Linked DNA regions of Homo sapiens: region 2 is linked to region 1. Evidence: promoter capture Hi-C in 16 types of primary human blood cells and fetal thymus (Javierre and others, 2016). All regions are on one chromosome and are shown on one strand. Each heading gives the region's core, a stretch centred on a gene start or on the middle of the fragment in contact. The rest is flanking DNA. Distances are from core to core; before and after follow the strand shown.

Region 1 (7,704 bases), core at 1,749-4,248:
TTTAGTAGAGATGGGGTTTCACTGTGTTAGCCAAGATGGTCTCAATCTCCTGACCTCGTGATCCACCCACTTCCCAAAGTGCTGGGATTAGAGGCGTGAGCCACCGCACTTGGCCTTCTATTAAACCTTCTTTATTTTTTAGTGCAAGGACTGAAATTCTGATTTTTAAAGTATTTGTTACTGAAGTATAAGTATTCAATTAAATACAAAGATTTCAAGTGTACAGTTTAGGGATGTTTGACAAACATATACACTCATGTGACCACCATCCCCATCAGGAATAGAACATTTTCATCACTTCAGATGTTCCCTTGTGTTCCCGTTCTATCAAAGGCAACCACTGTGTTGACTGTTTTCACCACAGATTAGTTTTGTCCTGTCTTGAACTTCATATAAATGGAATTACACAGTATGAATTGTTTTGTGTAAGACTTCTTTCACTCTGTATGCTATCCTTGAGATTCTTTCACGTGTTGAGTAGTTCATTCAGTAGTTCATTCCTGTTGTCGAATAGTATTCTATTGTGTGAATATGACAGTTTGTTTTTCTATTCATCTGTTGATGATATCCGAATTCCTTCTAGTTTTTGATCATTGCAAATAAAGCTGCTATGAACAGTTGTGCACAAATATTTTTGTGAATATAGGTTCTCATTCTTTTGGATATAATCCTAGGAGAGGAATTTCTGGGTCCTAAGGCAGGTATATGTTTAGATGGAACAGCCGGTTTTCTAAAGCAACCATACCAATTACCCTTACAGCATGCCATCTCCTCACATCAGGACAGGCCAAGACAATTGTGAATAAGCATAATCTTGAAAATGTTAGGAGAATTAAGTAGTAATATTCAATTGACTGTTTTTAAAATGTTCCTAGGCAAAGCTCCTGAGTGAGTGAGTTGGTAGCTCTTGGCAGGTACCTTCTGATCCCTCCCCTCCGTTCTCAGCACTAACCAGGCTTTAAAATGACCCCTCCAGTCCAGACATGTGAAGTCTCACTCCTTAGGTTACCAGCTAACTGTTAAAAGGGAAGGAGCTGGCCGGGTGTGGTGGCTCATGCCTGTAATCCCAGCACTTTGGGAGGCCGAGGCCGGCGGATCACGAGGTTAAGAGATCGAGACCATCTGGCCAACATGGTGAAACCCCGTCTCTACTAAAAATACAAAAATTAGCTGGGCGTGGTGGTGCACGCCTGTAGTCCCAACTACTCGGGAGGCTGAGGCAGGAGAATCGCTTGAACCTGGGAGGCTGAGGTTACAGTGAGTCAAGATCGCTCCACGGTACTCCAGCCTGGCAACAGAGCGAGACTCTATCTCAAAAAAAAAAAAAAAAAAAAAAAAAAGGGAAGGAGCTAAGTAAATTCATTTATACTTGTCAGGCCTCACTGCATTTAACACCTCACTGCATTAACAGCTACCACGCCCGGCTAATTTTTGTATTTTTGTAAAGATGGAAATTTCACCATGTTGGCCAGGCTGGTCTCCAACTCCTGATCTCAGGTGATTGGTCGGCCTCCGCCTCCCAAAGTGCTTGGATTACAGGCCTGGGCAACCGTGTCCGGCCAGTATTTGTATTTTGAAAGCAAAGTTTAATTATCCAAAATAATTACTCATTAATAGTAGCCCTTGTAGTTGATGGGAAGTAATAAGGAGAGAAGAAATCTTTTCAGTACATTTCAACAATTAATGCAAGCTGAAAAATGACACCTGTAGTAAATCAGATGTGGATTCAAATCCAAGTTCTTACTGTGAAAAGAAAGTAAATTATTTCAATGTCTGTGTCCTGGTTCATTAAATGAGGATAATCATCTGCCCCTTTAGCACCAATCACTTTTTCAATTGTAAGTATATTTTATTTAAGTGTGAACATTTTTAGGACCGATTGCAGCCACATTCAGGGTCTAGCACAGGGACAGGCATGTATGGGCACTCAATAGATGTTTGTTGACCCATACATCAATATAAAAGGGATTTGCAAATTGTAGAGCACCGCGCATGCCTCAGTTATAACAATACTGATCTTTATTACTCTACCTATGAAGAAAGCAAGTTCTTCTTTCACTGAACAGGGCTGGTGGTAGGGAGACAGGCTAGGGGCGAGCAGGAAGAAGGAATCAAGTCAAACAGGGACCCCTGCAGCAGAATCCATTGGGACACTTTAACTTAGAGTGTAGATTCCCAGACCAGACCGACAGAGTCCGAATCTCAGACCCTTTCGAGGTCAAAAAGCCCTGATTTGGGAGGTGGGTGATAATGGTGACAATCTCACTAGCCCTCTTACTGCTCCTTGAGAAATACTAGCGTACCAGGAAAAGTGGTGAAGGAAGCGTTCCTGAAGATATCCTTTCCTCAGTGACTCTCAAACTTCGCTTTTAGGAAAGAGGAATTTCGCTATTCCATGCGTTTCACACCTTAGAGTGAGGGTGGTAGGTAACTTAGATTTTCCTCTCTTCATTAAAAAAAAAAAAAAAAAAGAGTGTTGGTGGGGAGGGGGAGGAGGCCAGTTGAAAAGTAGAGGCCGAGGACAGAGTTAGACACTCGTTGTCTAACGGCCCTGCCGGAGGGGCTCCGCCTGTCAGACTGCGTCACCCTCTCGCCAAGGGTCCCCCAGACGGGCGGGGGCTCCTTGCGGCCGGCTAGCTACTCTCCCCGCCTCCCTGCGCCCTCGCCCTCCGCCCCGCTGTACCCGCAGAGCGCGCGGCCCAGCGCAGCCCCTTTTGGCACCGAGGTTTCCAGGTGCCCAGCGCGAAGGCGGAGCCGGGTTACAGCCGCCTCCTCGGCGCCACAGAGAAGACCCCCGGGAGTTCGGCGGCCCAGGCGCTCCGGCTCTGCGTCCCGAGCCTCCCCCGGCTCTCCGCGCTCCTCCCTCTCGGCGCGCCCGGCGCGAAGCCTGCGATTCGTGAGCCGAGCGCAGAGCGCAGAGCCGAGTGGCGCACGCTGGGCAGTGGCCTGGGCAACCCCAAACGCAGCCAGAGCCCTCACCCGAGTCCGCTGGCCCGCGCACTCCCGGACCATGACTGCCGAGGGACCCAGCCCGCCTGCCCGTTGGCACAGACGCCTCCCCGGGCTCTGGGCGGCGGCGCTGCTCCTGCTCGGTCTGCCGCGCCTTTCGGTGCGGGCGGATGGTGAGTGTGCGGGAGGCGGCGGGGCGGGGGGTGGAGCGTGGGGTCCGGGCAGGGAGGGCGTAGCTCGCCGGGGCTGCTCCCTCTGACCGGCCCGGCAAGCGGCAAGCGCAAGCCTGAGAGGAACGAACGAGCCGCGGTCCTGCGACCCAGCATCCCTCTCCTGGCCCACCAAGTCTCCGCGTGCCCGTGCGCCCAAACGCCCGCCTGGTGCCTGGACCCTCCCTTAGCGCCGAGCGCGTAGGTCCCGCAGTCCCGCCGCTGGCTTTCCTAAGGTCTCCAAGAAAGCTCGAATGAAATCACCTCTAAGGTGCCCTAGAACCTCCTCTGCTAAGGGGTGATTTTCCGCCGTCCCTCAGTTTCTCAACGTCTATTAATGTGCCCCTGAGGACACCGCCGATGGTTAGAAAACTCCCTCGGATATTTTGGCTTGGTCCGGGAAGACGTGAAAGATGAGTGGGAATCAGCGAGGCTAAGAGAGAGAGAATGGCCTGGCCAGAGGGAAAAGCACGTGCAAAGGCTGTCTCTGAGTGACAGGAAAAACGGGACAAATGATAAAGCAAAGTACCTGGAGGCGAGGGGACGTCTTGAGACATGAGGTAGAGAAGTGGGCAAGGGCCAGATTATGGCAGGTTCTCTGAGAATTGATCCACTTCTTGTTCGTTTGCTTGGTTTTTCAGCCTGAATTTAGCTTGTAATACTTGCCCTAAAATGAGCAGGATTGGAGCTCTGTATCCATTCCCTTTTGAAAAGCTAATTCAGCTGTGTTTTCATATTAGAACAAAATCCCGCTGACTTGGTACAGGAGCATCTGAAGGAAGCAAGCTTAAAGCCAGCAGTTCTCACACCCATGAGGTAGTTCTAGCTTAGGACGAATTAGACTGATAAAAGAGAAAAGCCCTCCGTCAATTTAGGATGCGTTGTATATTTTAAAATGTGATTCTTGTTTAGCCAACGATATTGAGTGAAACTAGAAGACATGGGGAAAAAAAAAAAAAGCATGGTTGTCAGGAAAAGGGGAAAGCCAAGGAAAAAACCGTCTAGGTCGTAGAGTTTTTAGTGCTCTCTGTTTTAAGTGCAGGCTTGAAAAGCTCTCCGTTCCTAATTAAGGATGAATGTCGTATTTCTCCATATCCTCAGAGAGAGTGTTAGAGACAAAACATTTTTAACTTTGAAGGCTGTTAGTAACCACTGCTAATTTTTTTAATTGACATGTATTTCACATAAAATTTGTCATTTTAAAATATACAGTTAAGTGGGTTTTAGTATATTCATTAGGTTGTGAAAACCATGGTTTGCATGCATCTAATTCCAGAACATTTCCATCACTCCTCAAAAGAATCCCATACCTATTAGCAGTTTACTGATAATTCTTCACTGTAGTGTTTTTTGACTGACATTGAGCCATGAAAATTAAGCTGATTTTAAAGAATGCAAGTAGAATAAATTGGAGCTAATATTAATCTTTGAACAAGATATATTGTGCCAACTTTAATTCCTTTTAAATAAATATTTTTGCAATCCATAAGGTTTTAGAGTTTCATCCCATTATAACTGTTTAAGTGGAATGCCATGTGGATAAGGATCAATATTTTGTGCCTGTCTAGCTTGATACGGGTCATAGAAAATTAAAGGCAGAAATGTCACTGGTCAAAGAGAAAGTAAGGACAACACCAGAGCACATGATTCTTTGTTACTGCTTGCCAGAAATGATTCCTTTTCTTCATTCTCCTTCCTTTTCTTTCCCCACTTCCTCAGTGGACAATTATAGGTATACTTCCTTATAGTAAACTCAATTTTATGAGCTCCAACTTTTATACTAGAACCAGGAAGAGTTATAAGCTATATTATCAAAGGATTCTTTTTGGTACTAAATTCTTAGCTGCCACCAGTTCCTACATTTAGTTATTTGTGTGCTATGGTGACGGGAGGAAGAAGAAGAAATGCTCAGCTTAAGTATGATGAATTACAGATGTTTGAAGAGATAGATTTGGAGAGAAACTATTTCTAAAAACGTGTCATCTGTATAAGGATGGTCTTTGAAATCATGTGCGTGGGCAGAATCCTAAGGAAAAATTTTACAGCAAGAAGACCTAGAACTGAGCCTGGAGTGAGGGAAGCTGGTTTGGGATTATTGAATCTATGTTTATGAAACATATTAGCCTGTAATTTTCATTTTTTATAATATCTTTGCCAAGTGTTGATATCAAACGTATGATGGTTCCTAAACCAAATTGTAAAGTTGCTCCTTCTTTAACTCTGAAAGGGTTTCTGCGGGTGAGGGCTTTTGTTTGTTTGTTTTGGTGTGAGATCATCTGTGTCTGAAGGTTTTCTTGTAGGAAGATTTTAAATAATGAATTTAATTTGTTTGGTAGATAAAGAAGTATTCAGATTTTAAAATTAATTTTGTGTCAATGTTGCTAAGTTTTATTTTTTAAAGTTTTTCCCCCACTTCATTTAGATTGTCTAATGTGGCATATACAATGTAATAATCTCTAATTATCATTTCAGGGTCCACGGGATCTGTAGTGATGTTCCCTTTCATTCTTGATATTGGTACTTTGTGTTTTCTCTTTTTTTGTCTTGATCAGTCTTAGTAGGGGTTTATCCGTTTTATTATTCATTTGAAAAAAGCAACTTTTGGCTTTATTTTCTTGATTGTGTGTCTGCTTTCCGTTTTACTGATTTCTGCTCTATCTGTATTATTTCCTCCTTCTACGTTAGAAGATTTGATTTTGTGGGACTTTTGTGTTTGTTTTTTGAGCTAGAAACTTAGATCATTGATTCTCAACCATACTTTTTTGGTATTAATAATGTGAGATCTGAGGCTATAAATTTCTCTTAAACTACTTTAGTTTCTCCATAAGTTTTTGGCCCTTGAGTTGACATGTTTTATTTCAGTTGGGATTTCTTCTTTGAACACAGTTTATTTAGAAGTATATTTTGTAATTTCCATGCACAAGGGGATTTTCCTAGTTATTGCTTTGTTATTGAGAGGCAGTATAACCAAGTGATTAAAATCACTAACGGAGCCATACTGCCTGGTTCTGTATCTCTGCTGTGTGATCTCGGACAAGCATTAATACTAAACCTTAACTATAAAATGAGGATGATAATACCACCTATATCATAGAGTTGTCATAAGAATTAATTTAATGAGTATTTGTAAAGCAATTTGAACAACATCTAGTCCATAGTAAACACTATATAAGTGTTTCATATATAAAATAAGTGATTTTAGCTTTGTTGTAGTCTAAAAGGCATGCTTTGTATGATTTTTGTCTTTTGAGGTTTTTTTAGATTTGCTTTATAGCTCAGTATTTGATCAGTTTTACAAATGTTCTGTGTGTGCCTAAAATGAATGTGTATTCTGTAGTTTGGTATGCAGTAGTGCACATAGGTTCTTACATCAAGAGTGCTAATTTTGTTTTCTGTTTTAACAATTACTGAGAGGGATAGTAGTTTAAAATTTCCTCAAGGATTGTGGATTTTTTTGTTTTTCCTTGTAGTTTTGTTAATACTACCTTTTTGTAGTTAAATGTAGGAGTGCCAGTCACCTATGGAAGTGTTTATTTAAAATTTTTTTTTGTATTTTTATTATAACTTTTGGTTCCAAAGCTGTGGAATTATTATATTTATTATAATAATTTTGCAAGTAGATGACTTGTGTCTTAGTCTTTTGCAAGCAGATGACTTGTGTCTTAGTTGTGTCTTAGTCCAATCACTGATATATTATGAAAAAGTTGGTGACAGATGGAAGTAAAGTGTCTCATTCTAAGTAGGTGTTTTCTCCCCTGCCTTTAGCTTAACTTGATAGGGCCACCCAAGGCATTGCTTCATTCCTCCAGGAGGCTCCTGGGGACCTCAGTGCTCCCTCCGGTACCGTGGTTTCCTTGCTTAAAATTCTCATTTGCCTTCAGCCTGGGCTTTCACCTCTGCTTGAATTCAGGTTCCCATCCCCCCATTAATCACACATTCTTTGAGGCCCACTACATGTCCATATATTAATGTGCTATAGGAAGCCAAGGTGTACCAGACATCATCCCTGTTTTCTTGTGCAGTAGGACAGAAGTACAGCAGACACAAATGAATTTATTGTGAAAGGGGCCTGGTAATATCTTAAGGCAAGGGACAGAGAGAAGGGAAGCAACCTGTTGTATAGGGGGTCATCCTAGGGCTGAGGGAGGCAGAAGAAAGCAGAGCTGAGGCCTAAATCAGTGCCTTAGTCATCAAGTGACCTAACTCAGGGAAGCCTAGGACACTGAGCCTTGACACATGATATTTGTAAAACACCGTTTTAAAAGAAAGATTTGAAGGGCTTTTCCAGATCGACATGCCAGAGCAGATGGTTAATTTTGGGCGGGTGGGGTGGGGAAGAAGAAGAAGATAAGAGAAAAAAAAAAGACGAAAATGCTAGTGTAATTATCATCACCTGGTCCCAGGGATGTGGATGTGGTAGTTGCTGCACTTGGGCCTTCAGGCAAGGACTACAGTTCTAACTGGCGTCTGCCAGAGGATGTTTGCTGAGACTAACTTCCCATGGATCCTGAAATCCACATGTGTTTGTTCTTGTTCCCACACAGGA
Region 2 (7,704 bases), core at 2,487-4,986, 140 kb before region 1:
TCAATTTTTTCAAAACAATAACTCTACTTTGTGGTCAGTAGAAATGACTACAATTTTTAGAAATTAAATGTCCTCCACATCATCACTAAGTAAACATAGTGAACAAAGAGTTAGGTATGATCAGTTTGAAGGGCAATTATATTCACTGGCATGGAATGCTGGCATGTTTAGGTGGAGTACTATTGTAATCACTGCTGTTAAGTCTCAAAAGAGCACTAAAGAACACCTAATTCAGAAACTACAGTGTTAAGCCAGGAACTAGAGCTTATCTTTCCAGGATGGGCGTGAATCCTTGAGGTCCCTGCCCCCTTCCAAGAGCAGAGCACCACAATATGACAGAAATAAGGGGTTTCCCCCTTTATTTAATAAAGGGAAATCTTCTGCTCTGCCCCACTTACTGTAAGTATTGTGCTCCACTGGTTTAAGATGAGAACCAGAGACTCTCAGGCAGTAAGTAACCTAGAGAAGGAGGTGAAGAGTCTCCACAACTGACCTAGATCATTAGTTTGTCTAGGTCAAGCCAGGTTAAGTAGCTAGCAGGAAATTGCTTAGCTCAATCCTACTGTTAAACACATTCATTTCCTTATCCAAAACAAACAAAAAAAAACCAATATATACATCTTGGTAAAAACACATAGCAAACATACTATGTGAGTAACTAAATTAAAATGCATTTCCACTACTGTAAGTTTGCTAAACTGGAAATCAATTAGGTTTTATATTAGGTAGAAAATAAACTTCAGAATCTCAAGACCCTCAAACCAGCACTTCAGACAATTCCTAAGTACAATGCTCTTTTTTTATTCCCTGCCTAAACTTTCTTTTTGGTTAGAAATTTAGTATTGAATATCAAAGTTGTTTTAACATAAACTTTCCTCATTTCATCAGGTTTACCACACTTAAATGGAGATATTTACATATTTACAGATAAATATATCAGAATCTTATATATTCTGTATATAATAATTGTATAAGACTTAATTATTACTTTATTTTATAGATAATAAAACAGAATACTGAGAGATTATATGACTTAAGTGGCCAAGCTAGGGTGACACTTTAGATCTCCAGCCTCACTCTTGGGCTTCTGCTTCTGCCATTTCTCCACTTTTGATGCTGAATTAGAATTCTCGGTGGATTTTCTAGATCAATAAGTATTTGTCAAGTCTCCTAAGGTTAAAGCACTGAACCAGGTGATAATGATGCAGGTGTGTGGCTTTAAAAAGCTGAGTAGTAAAATTCAGACTATAAACATAAACAAGGGAAAAAAATCTGTTACTGATACAATTTAAAATGCAAGCAGGGTTTTGTTTTGATGTATGCAAATCCCTTCCAGTTTTTCTTCTTTCTGTTCTACCTCAGCACTTTAATATTAGATCTAAATGCAGTAAAATAAAAAGTCAGGAAAGGGGGAACAGCTACTCATATTTTTAAAAAGTTTTTTGTCTAAACCAAAGCTAACTTACCTCTACATCTGTTTGAAAGTTAAAAAGATCTATTCTTTGCCAGTTGCTTCCATCCAGGGCTAAGATGTTCCAAGCCTGGAAGGTGGGAGGTAAAGGAAGAGGGATTGGGATGAAAGAAACACATTTATTGAGACTATTAAAGAAAGTCTTGATTAACCTTTATTTCCAAACTCCTATTTTTGATGTATATTAAGTTAATCATCAAATGCAAAATTATACCATTATGTTATATTAAGTATAAAAGATAATAAAATTTTAATTTTCAGTAATTTGAACTAAAACTCATTCTAATAAAACTTGATATTTATTGATTAAAAAATCTGGTGAATACTCTACCTTGGAAATCTGTGCACATCGGCACAAAGTTACTATATCCAAGAAGGAAAATATTCTACAGAGAGAGGAAAAAAACACAAAAACGAGATGGTGTTAACATTTCAGGATAATTATAACTTGAAAGATAAACTCTAATCCGCCACCTGGATACATAAGTTTTTTCAAGATTCCTCAATCTGAAATATACAAGTGCACTATAACTTTACATCACTACAGTGAAATATTAAGTGTTTGCATGTTCAGAAGCTATTTTGGACACACAATACAAATTACCTTAGAACTCATTAAGCTTATATTTCCCTTGTTCTAAGTAATGGACACAGGAAAGACCATAACTGGTTCTATTTGAAGACCAACTCTCTAGCATAAGCCCTCTTTTGGTGGTAGATGCACTGAACAGGCTCAGATGCCTGAGCCTCAAATAACACTGTCAAAAAAAGCTTGATGACAAAGCCCATTTGGTTTGAAGTATTTGTTTGCCTGGCAGAAAGATGGAGCTCATTAGTTGGCAAAGTCTATAAGTGATCAGTTTTTCCTAAGCAAAAGCCAAGGAGCCAGAGAACATAGGAAAGATGGGGCGGGAAGAGGTGGGGGGAAGAAAAGCAGACAGAAGCAAACAAAATCTTGGTTGGCATCAGTAATGCCTTAGAGGAAGCAGTAGCTGCCAGCATGGCAGGGGACTGAGTGAAGCCTCGACATTCTGGCAGTCAAGGAGAGGAGCTGCTGCTCATAGTATGTGAGCAAACAGCCGTGTGCGCCTCAGCACTGCAGAGTGACAGCTAAAAACAAAGGGCAGCTTTTCTGTGAGAAGAAGGGTGGACAGGGTTGAAGTCAGGAACAAGAGTAGTGCCTCAGTTTTCAGAGTCCTGGAAAGTAAATATGAGAGTCTGTGCCTCTGAGTGTGGAAGGGGGAGAGTGGTTAAGATGGCGAACAGCCACCTATAATGTTCCTCAAAATTCTTCAAAGGCAACAATCGGTGGTGAGATAAAAATCCACGGACTCAGGGAAGAAGAGTAGAATCATAAAACATGAAAGTGTTGTACCCTACAATAATGCACCCACATGCAGTACCATGGGATACTGACTGCATAGATGCCATCCTACAATATAGGCTACAATCATTTTCTAGTGAAAAGCAAAGGATAGAAGCATAATAAGGGCTACACTGACTTTAAAAGATTCAGTGGATCTTGGCTGGGCGCGGTGGCTCACGCCTGTAATCCCAGCACTTTGGGAGGCCGAGGTGGGCGGATCACGAGGTCAGGAGATCGAGACCATCCTGGCTAACACGGTGAAACCCCATCTCTACTAAAAATACAAAAAATTAGCCGGGCGAGGTGGCGGGCACCTGTAGTCCCAGCTACTCAAAAGGCTGAGGCAGGAGAATGGCGTGAACCCGGGAGGCGGAGCCTGCAGTGAGCCGAGATAGCGCCACTGCACTCCAACCTGGGCGACAGCGAGACTCCGTCTCAAAAAAAAAAAAAAAAAAGACTCAGTGGATCTTTGTACATAGAAAAATGCTGGTGGCTAAAATATGTGTACTTAAACATACATATTCAATATATTTTAGGATATCTACACATCTACCTTGCCCAACACAAAGGCTCTCCTGCCCCTAATAGCTGTGTTCTGTGACATATGACCATCCCACAGCTAGCCACATCTGATTATCAGCTCCCTACAGAAACAAACACCAAACAGAGAAACTAGCCTGGTACAGTAGAATCATATTTCATGCAGGGATTGGGTTCTAAAAGCATAAGCCAAAGGTAAAAAAAGAGTTAGCTGTTTCCCTTGAAAATACCTTAAGAGCATACCACCTTTATCACGTCTCAGTAATAACAATACTGGTAATAACAAAAATAGTTAACATTGATTATGCACCAACTATGTGCCAACCATGGTTTATATGCTAGTTCACTGCTATGAGGTGTTGTGCTATTACTATCTCCATTTTACAGATAAGGACACTGAGCATAGAGGTTAAGTAACCTGCCCAGGGCACACTGAACTAGGATTTGAACCCAGGTAGTCTGGTTCAAGAGCACAAGCCATGACCACTACATATACTGCTTTGGAACGCTTAACACAGCTGCTTTTCCCTCAGGATTGGGCTAGATCCTGAGAAAGAAAAGAAACTTTTAATCTAAGAGATGTGAGCCGCTATGTGGGCTCTAGAGTGACTGACACAAGTAGCTATAAAGTAACCTAACAATACCATATGCTTGATACTCTAACTCCTACCCCATAGTTCAACAATGTACGATCAATCACTAATCAATGCTACTTCTGGAAACCCGTAAGAGTTCCCAAAAACAACTTTTGTAATTGCCCCTCTCCTGATTCATCCTTTTTTCTTTAGAAACTCGAGCAGGATGGGCACAGTGGCTCACACCTGTAATCTCAGCACTTTGGGAGGCTGAGGCGGGTGGACCACAAGGTCAAGAGATTGAGATCAACCTGGTCAACACAGTGAAACCCCATCTCTACTAAAAATATAAAAATTAGCTGGGCGTGGTGGTGTGCACCTGTAGTCCCAGTTACTTAGGAGGCTGAGGCAGGAGAATCGCTTGAACCCAGGAGGCAGAGGTTGCAGTGAGCCGAGATCCGCCACTGCACTCCAGCCTGGCGACAGAGCGAGACTCCATCTCAAAAAAACAAAACAAAACAAACCAACTCGAGCAACTCCTTTATTCTCGGGATCACTTCCCAGTGTTACCTGAGCTGCAATCTCAAACTTGCCCCAAATAAACTCTCTAGATTAATTTTGCCTCAGTTTCCTTATTTAGGTCGACAGTGCTATTTCTTAACTGATAATAATAAATGAAGTAGTTTTCGTTTAGTGAGTATGTTGTTTGGAACAAACTGGACTCATGCTTCACTCACAAGTGAAGCAAGAGCTCACACGCTGAGACACATAGGAACCAACAGGTGCAACAGGAATTCACATTTCTCATCTCATCTCATACCTAGTTTTATGATTACTGAATGAAAAAATAGATTGCCTAAAGTATTTACATTATTTCCCATCTCTCCCCAACCTTTTAAACTGAAAGTAGTTGAATTTGCACAAATAGGCGTGGCAATACTCCAAACTACCACACTGACACCAAAGCCAATTCCTGACTCATGTTTCGACGAGTAAAAGTAATGCCCTGAATTACACAGCCTGGGATACTGTCAATAGAAACGGAGATAGCGACATGAGTGGCAAACTGAGTTCTGACTCCTTCAAAACATTCTTTCCTAGAAAGTGCTTCCTTATCTCAAATGTGATAGCCTCAGCTTTACAAGGCAAGCACTGCAATAGCACCCTGGTTATAAATAATCACAGGGGAGTAAGGGATTGGATATACTTTTGGACTTTGTATTCTGCTCCATTAGTCTGTCTTTGTGCCACTAAGGCTGTTTTAATTATGAAGCTTTAATAATAAGTCACAATGTCTGGTAACGTAAGTCCTTCAACTTTGTTCTTCTTCATCAAGATTATCTTAGTTATTCTTGATCCTCGGAATTTCCTATTAAGTTTCAGAATCAGCATATCAATTTCTACAAGAAAACTTTCTGAAATTTTTACTGGGATTGCACTGAATTTGTAGAAAATTTGGGAATAATTGAGATTTTTACAATATTAAATCTTCCAATCCAGAAACATGATCCATTTCAAAATTTATTTAGGATTTCTTTAATTTTTCACAGTAATTTTTGTAGTTTTCCAGATAGATACCTTGCTCATCTTTAGATTGTTTTTCCTGGTTATTTGACGTTCTTATTAAAATGGAATATTTTTTGGCAGCGAGTGGTGGCTCATGCCTATAATCCCAGCACTTTGGAAGGCTAAGGGAGGAGGATCACCCAAGCCCAGGAATTCGAGACCAGCATGGGCAACATGGTGAAACCCCATTGCTACAAAAAATACAGTAATTAGCCAGGTGTGGTGACGCATGCCCATAGTCCCAGCTACTCAGGAGGTGGAGATGGTAGGACTAACAGAGCCCGGGGAGGTCAAGCCTTCAGTGAGCTATGAACCTGGGCAACAGAAGGAGACCCTGTCTCAAAAAAAAGGAATATTTTAAATGTCATTCTTTAATTGCTGCCAGTATATAATGTTAATTTTCATATACTGACCCTGTACCCAACAATATTTCTAAATTTGTCCATTCATTCTGATTTTCCACATAAAATATCAATTCACCAGTGAATAATGAACTAACTTTCCTCCTTTCCAATAATTATACTTTCTATTTCTTTTGCTTATTACAGTGGCTATGATCTTCTCTAGTACAATGATAAATACAACCGATAATGAAATACATCTTTGTCTCATTCTCATCTCAGAGAAAAAGCTGCCACTATTCAATTATGATGTTTACTATAGGTTTTTTTTTCCTGCCTTTCAATTATTTTATAATTCCTTTGTTACAGACTGTAAAATATTTCCATTTGGCACATGCACAATTTTAACACCTTTCACATTTGTTTATCTCCCCTTTAATTTTTTTTTTTTCCAGATGGAGTCTCACTCTGTCACCCAGGCTGGAGTGTAGTGGCGTGATCTCGGCTCACTGCAACCTCTGCCTCCAGGTTCAAGCAATTCTCCTGTCTCAGCCTCCTGAGTAGCTGGGATTACAGGCGCCCACCACCACACCCGGCCAATTTTTGTATTTTTAGTAGAGACGGGGTTTCACTATATTGGTCAGGCTGGTCTCGAACTCCTGACCTCAGGTGATCCACCCGCCTCGGCCTCCCAAAGTGCTCGGATTACAGGCGTGAACCACTGGGCCCAGCCTAAAATTTTTATTTAAAATAAGAGCAAGTAGTATAGAGAGTTACTATATACACCCCCACCAACAGACACACATAGTTCCCCCTATCATTAACATGTTGTATTAGTGTGGTACATTTGTTACAATTAATGAACCAAATTGATACATTATTATTAACTAAGGTCTATAGTTTACAACAAAGTTCACTCTGTATTATATAGTTAGTTCTAGAGGTTTTGCCAAATGCATGTCATGTAGCTGCCATTACAGTATCACATAGAATAGTTTACTGTCAACAACATGTTTCACCTATTCATCCCTCCTCTCTTTCTCATGAACCCTTGGCCACTACCGATTTTTTTCTTCCCAGACATGGTCTCATACTGTCACCCAGGCTAGAGTATGGTGGTATGATCATGGCTCACTGCAGCCTCAACCTCTTGGGCTCACTCGATCATCCCGCCTCAGCCTCCCAAGCAGGGGAAAGTAAAGCCACACCACCATGCCCAACTAATTAGAAAAAAAAATTTTTTGAAGAGATGGGGTCTATGTTGTCCAGGTTGGTCTTGAACTCCTGGCCTTAAGCAATTCTCCTGCCTTGGCCTCCCAAAGTGCTGGGATTACAGGCGTGAGCCACTGTGCCCAGCCCCACTGATCTTTCTAATGTCGCTATAGTTTTGTGTTTTCCAGATGCCATATGATTGGAATCAAACACTACGTAACCGTTCAGACTGGCTTCTTTTACTTAGCAACATGCATTTATGGCTCCTCCAAGTCTATTCATGGCATGATAACTTACGGTGTTTTATTGCTGAAAAATATCTCATTGTGTGAATATACCAGTTTGTTTATCCATTCGCCTATTGCAGGACATCTTAGTTGCTTCTAGTTTGGGGTGATTATGAATAATTCTGCTATAAACATTTGTGTGTAGGTTTTTGTGTGGATATAAATTTTCTACTCATTTGGATAAATACTTAGGTATGTGACTGCTTGACTAAATGATACATTTATGGTTAGCTTTGCAAGAAACTGCCAAGCTGTATTCTAAACTGGCTGTACCATTTTGAATCCTCACTAACAGTGAATAAGTGTTCCTGTTGCTCTGCATCTTACCACCATTTTGTATTTAGAT

The links. Contacts are between HindIII fragments. The CHiCAGO score rates a contact against its expected background, and 5 or more counts as called.
Region 2: a fragment that was not itself captured here is called in contact with the fragment with the promoter of SUSD5 in region 1 in 3 of 17 cell types (endothelial precursors, M2 macrophages and M1 macrophages); the score reaches 8.7 in endothelial precursors.

Annotation. Positions count from the first base shown.
Region 1 is chr3:33,214,104-33,221,807 of GRCh38, reverse strand. SUSD5 (sushi domain containing 5) reads left to right here and starts at 2,998. Exons shown (of 5, transcript NM_015551.2): 1 at 2,998-3,122; 2 at 7,703-7,704. The coding sequence starts at 3,011. The HindIII fragment of the contact is 11,893 bases long and covers 1-3,946 here.
Region 2 is chr3:33,353,120-33,360,823 of GRCh38, reverse strand. FBXL2 (F-box and leucine rich repeat protein 2) reads right to left here. Exons shown (of 15, transcript NM_012157.5): 3 at 1,803-1,857; 4 at 1,467-1,541. Among named protein-coding and RNA genes, the nearest start is that of FBXL2, 80 kb to the right of the region's middle. The HindIII fragment of the contact is 2,983 bases long and covers 2,245-5,227 here.